2 separate regions of the Homo sapiens genome follow, and region 2 is linked to region 1. Evidence: promoter capture Hi-C in human tissues and cell types (Jung and others, 2019). All regions are on one chromosome and are shown on one strand. The core of a region is centred on a gene start or on the middle of the fragment in contact, and the rest is flanking DNA. Distances in the headings are between cores, read along the strand shown.

Evidence for each region. The method cuts DNA at HindIII sites, captures the fragments that hold promoters and counts their contacts. A contact is called where the count stands out against the background at its distance.
Region 2: a contact is called between the fragment with the promoter of PSMD12 here and a fragment that was not itself captured in region 1, in 1 of the 25 tissues and cell types used here (dorsolateral prefrontal cortex).

The regions. Positions count from the first base shown.
Region 1 is chr17:66,724,017-66,726,716 of GRCh38, forward strand. All of the region lies in intron 8 of PRKCA (protein kinase C alpha), which reads left to right. Among named protein-coding and RNA genes, the nearest start is that of MIR634, 62 kb to the right of the region's middle. The HindIII fragment of the contact is 6,740 bases long and covers 1-2,700 here.
Region 2 is chr17:67,365,139-67,367,838 of GRCh38, forward strand. It overlaps PSMD12 (proteasome 26S subunit, non-ATPase 12), which reads right to left and starts at 1,439. Exons shown (of 11, transcript NM_002816.5): 1 at 1,274-1,439. The coding sequence starts at 1,381. RefSeq lists enhancers at 1,255-1,314, 1,335-1,644. The HindIII fragment of the contact is 13,722 bases long and covers 1-2,700 here.

The DNA.
Region 1 (2,700 bases), core at 159-2,658:
CAACTGTCTTAGATCAGCATTTCTCAACCTTAAATGTGCACAGGACCCACCCAAAGATTTTGTTTAAAATGCATGTTTGGACTTAGTAGATCTGGGATGGGGCCCAAGAGTCTGCATTTCTGCCAAGCCTCTAGCTGATGCTGCTGGTCCTAGGACCAGTGCCCAGCTACTTGGGAAGCTTAGGCAGGAGAATGGTGTGAACCCGGGAGGTGGAGGTTGCAGTGAGCCAAGATCGCGCCACTGTACTCCAGCCTGGGCGACAGAGCGAGACTCCATCTCAAAAAAAAAAAAAGAACTGAACAGACATCATCAGAGCTGAAAGGAGATTCCTCCTGGTGCAGGGGTGGAGGACAGTTTCACAGGAGGATGGCAGCACTGAGAGCCATGGGGGTCTCCAGCCTGTGGACTGCTGCTCAGAGCCTGGTCCCCCACCGCTTTCTTTACCTAACTTGGAAATGAGTGAGATGGACTCAAGATTTGGGACACATCAGCAGGAGCGTTTCTAATGAGTTAATATCTGCTTGAGGTCAGCAGCCCAGTGCATGCTCTGCTCTGAGCATTCATTCATCTTCAGGGGACATTCTGTGTTTCTGCATTTCATCCTCTGCATTCAGAATTTTCCATTTGCTCAGGCCCCCAGCAGGGCGTCTGGCCACGTTGGGCCGTGTTTGTATTGCTGGAGTAAAGGATGCCAGCACACTTACTCTTCTGCTTCCTCAGGTTTTCTGAAATCTCTGCAGTTAGGCTGTTAGCTTCAGCTTTATCCCTAGACGTATATTGATTTTATTTGCACTCCTGGTGAAGTCTGAATTATAGTCATGACAACTAGAGTTATGTCAACAATATGCAAGCCAGGAAGGGCAGGTCTCTTAATTCTGCTGGGAGGCCAGTTGCCAAACAATACATTAAAAAGCTCAGAGAAAGAAAAATGGTCAGCTCAGGGCTCACTGTTGCTCTTGAGCCAGAGATCCCAGCTGGATCTTGGGCAAGCCAGACTTCTCAGCAGAGGAATAGCCCTTCAGAGAAACCCTTCCAAGGGCATGGTTTCAGCTTGCTGGCCTGGCTAACTAGTCTCGTGTGGCCTCTGGGGAGGGTCATCATGTGGCCAACCACCCTAAAGGCAGAGAGCCCTCCCAGCACTTCTCTGTGGCTGTCCCAGCATGAACAGTGATTGCTTGAGAGAAGGAGTTCAGATTATGTATGAAGGTGCAAATGCATGGAGTTCTGGGCTGCTTGTCTGCACCAGCTCACCTGACTATCAGCTGCCTTTTTATGTTAGTTTGTCATCTGGCCAACTAGTGCTGGCTACAAGTTGGCCTCTGTCAGTTCTGTCAGTCTTAGTGCTTAATGAGCACAAATGTGAATGAATGAGAGAGAGAACTCTGAGTTTTGAATGCATGTGCCTGATATAGTGCTTGGTCTCAAGATACAAACTTGAGTAAGACTTGGTCCTTACCTCCTAGGATCTCACAGGCTAGTGAGGAAGACAGATCAATAAATCCAAGAAGAAGAGGCTGGGTGTGGTGGCTCACACCTATAATCCCAGCACTTTGAGAGGCTGAGGTGGGTGGATCACTTGAGCTCAGGCGTTTGAGACCAGCCTGGGCAACATGGTAAAACCGCATGTCTACAAAAAAAAAAAAATTAGCTGGGTGTGGTGATGTATGCTTGTAGTCCCAGCTACTCAGGAGGCTGAGATGGGCGGATCACTTGAGGTCAGGAGGTTGAGGTTGCAGTGAACCATGATCATGCCACTGCACTCCAGCCTGGGCGACAGAGTGAGACCCTGTCTAGAAAAAAAAAAAAAAATTCCAAGAAGGAATGTGTGTTAAGTTCCCCAGAAGCTGACGTAGCCCCATGGTTTTGAGAAGTTCATTCCTGAAGGGATCCCAGGAGACATGGGTGGGGAGTAGAGATGGGAGCCAGGTAAGGGTAGGACCTAGCCAAGGTTGTGTTCTCAAGCTGATGACCACTGTGGGCAGCTGGAGCTCGGTCTTCTTGTGAGCTGGAAGAACATTCTGGAACAGGCTTCCTGTTCCCATAACTCGGGCACCTCGGGCTCCCTCTGCAGGAGTGGTCTGAATGGAACCCTCAGGTGTTCGCAGGTGTGCAGGACAGAAAGCTCAGGTGTTTGCAGGTGTGCAGGACAGAAAGCTCAGGTGTTCGCAGGTGTGCAGGACAGAAAGCTCAGGTGTTCGCAGGTGTGCAGGACAGAAAGCGCAGGTGTTCGCAGGTGTGCAGGACAGAAAGCTCAGGTGTTCGCAGGTGTGCAGGACAGAAAGCTCAGGGGATACGGGTGGGGCCCTGTCTGCTGCAGGTTGGAAATTCCAGAGAAACCAAAAGGAGGCACTTGAGTTGGACTTTGAAGGTGAACAGAACAGCAAGACCCCTGCCCTCCCAGACTTGCAGTCAGGTGGCAACGGTTTCCGGGAAGAAAGCTAACTGGGAGAAGGAAGGAGTGTTGGGGTTTCAGGAAGACCACTGTGGAGGATGACTGTGAACAGCAGAAGAGGGAAGGGCGGAGCTGGCGTCCCAAGGCAGGAGACAGGTGGGAGCTTGCGGCAGGCTGGCATGGCTGGGACCGAGGCGGAGGGAGTGGTGGGAAATAAGCCGAGAGACAGAGCAGAGCGAGTGTCCTCCTCAGCCATCAAAGCACTCAGCCTTCTCTCTGTCGTGTGGGAAGCCGGTGAATCCAGGACA
Region 2 (2,700 bases), core at 189-2,688, 640 kb after region 1:
GCGCCACTGCACTCCATCCTGGGTGAAAAAAGTGAAACTCCGTCTCAAAAAAAAAAAAAAAAAAAGTTCAGGTTTTCACTACAATAGGCTTCTAGGCAGGACAGCATGGTGTGTGAGGGCACCAGCTCCAGAATCTAGAATCGGTCTGCCTGGGTTTGCTTCTTGGCTTCACCACTTTACTAGCTGTATGATCTTGGGGCATGTGATTCAACTTTTTCTAGCCCAAGTTTTCTTACCTGTAAAATAAGGATAATAGTAATAGCCATCGCATAGGGCTGAGGTGAGGATCAAATGGCTTAGTGCATGTAAGCACGGTGCCTGACACTGCAGAAACTACTCAACAAATATCAGTTATTGTTATCTGTCTGGCATTGGAGGCGGCTGAGTTTTCCCACCCTTATGTAACTGATGTTTGTTGATGCTAGCTGCTAGAAAGCTCTTAATGAATTTGTGGCTCCCCCTCAGCAAGCATACTGAACCTAAGATATACATACGTACCAACTTTATCACCTTTCTCCATCCTTGTTTCTTGGAAAGCCCGTTAAACTCTTATAGTGCCTACTTGTCTTTACTTCTGTAGTTCCGTCTTCAGTAATGACTCCACCCCACCTCAATCTTACTAATTCCTCAAGACCCAATACAAACGTCAGCCTTCCTGTAAAACCTTCCCTTATGGCACCATTAAGAATGCATAGCTTCCTTCTCGGTGTTCCAGTAACACTTTCCCCTTGTATGGCCCTCACCACCATGCATGACTTGACTAATTCATCACGTACATCAACTCCTAAAGGACAGGGTCCTGTGTTAGTCATCTTCGTACTATCACTTTCCTGCCCCTTCTCCTGGCCAAAGACCAGGCACATAGCCATGATCCACAAACGATGTAACGACATAAATTGATTGAGCAACAGCAACAGAACGAAACTCTCTGATCTAGCCTTAATACTGAAGCGGCCTTAACCCCTGGGAAACTACTAAGGTAAATATCACTTAAACAGCATCCAAGAAACGGCAAAAAGTTAAACGGAGCCCTAAGTCCCACGGAGGGAAGTGACCATCTGTTTTGGGGAGGGTCTGGGAAGCTATAGGCGCTGGCGTACTCCGCAGCCCTGGCCGGGCCGACCTGGGGTCTCCCACTCGTGCAGGCCCAACTAGGGCTGGACAGGCATTGGGGGGTGCACGCTCCAGCCCGCAGGCCCCCTGAGGCCTAAGCAGGCTCCGCGCCGTGACTCAGCCCCTGGCGCCCGCCAACAGCCAGCCGGCCTCTCCTCACCTTGGCTAGCTTCGCACACTCGGGTAGGCGCTGATCCACCGTGGCGCTGTAGTCCACCTCCATCTTGACGATGCGCCCGTCAGCCCGCTCCGAGCCGCCGTCCGCCATGGTCCCCGCCTGAGCGTCCCTTGCTGTCCCCCTGCTTCGGCCACCACTCGTCACCCACACCGGAAGTTGCCCGCGCACCCGCTCAGGCAGCCCATCGGGAGCCCACGCAAAGGACCCCTCGAGGTCCCCGGCGCTGGTTGCCACTCAGGCACTGCCGCGGACAGCCTGGGGGTGGGGCTTGAGGCGCGCGGGGCGGGACTCGCCACTCCAGCCTGCAGCGTCAGGTTTTGTCTCTGGGAACATCAGACTTTTTACCTAAAATTTGCGATGAGAAAAGCGAGTGTAATAGAACAGACCATCTCATATATCCCTACACCCCTGCTTCGAAATATGATTTCTCAGGACCGTGGCCAGTCGCTTTTCTTGGATCTCGGTTTTCTCATCTCTACATCAGGAGGCTAAAATAAACCTTAAAATAGAAAATTCTAAGGTTTTATCTACTTGAGAATCTTGGTGGCTTACTCTGTGGGATCTCTGAAAGCTCCTAAGAGAAGATATGGCAGCAGCTCAGTCATTTAATAAGCAAAGTGGTTTTTCTCTTTGTTTTCATTTTCACTGTAATCCACTAAGTTGGTAAAAAGAAAAGTTAAAAAGACATATTTGTTATCCCTATAGGATTTTCGTGAGCATCAAACTAGATGACATGTGAGACAATTTCAATTCTTAAGGGCCTTACACGTTTTATGTGTTATCATTCATACCATGCTGGTCCCTAGAAAATAGCTTGAGATCTTAAAAAAGCTTAGGATCCTTGAAAATGGGAATGAGGCCGGGCGCGGTGGCTCACGCCTGTAATCCCAGCCCTTTGGGAGGCTGAGGCGGGCGGATCATGAGGTCAGGAGATCGAGACCATCGTGGCTAACACGGTGAAACCCCGTCTCTACTAAAAATACAAAAAATTAGCCGGGCGTGGTGGCGGGCACCTGTAGTCCCAACTACTCGGGAGGCTGAGGCAGGAGAATGGCGTGAACCCAGGAGGCGAAGCTTGCAGTGAGCCGGCGAGATTGCGCCACTGCACTCCAGCCTGGGCGACAGAGCAAGACTCCGTCTCAAAAAAAAAAAAAAAAAAGAAAAAGAAAAGTAAAGAAAATGGGAATGAGGTTGTGTTTGGTGTGGGCATATGGTCAACAGCAGCCTGGAAAGCAAACAGGAAAACGGGAAATCTTGGAGTGGTTTATCTATTATGTTAGTGGTTCTCAATTTAATTAGTGCCGACATCGCTTTATAGATGCTGAATAGATCTCTTTGTTTGTTTTAACTGCAATGAAAATCAGGGAAAATATAAACCATCTACAAGCAAAATAAGACAATATCTCAGC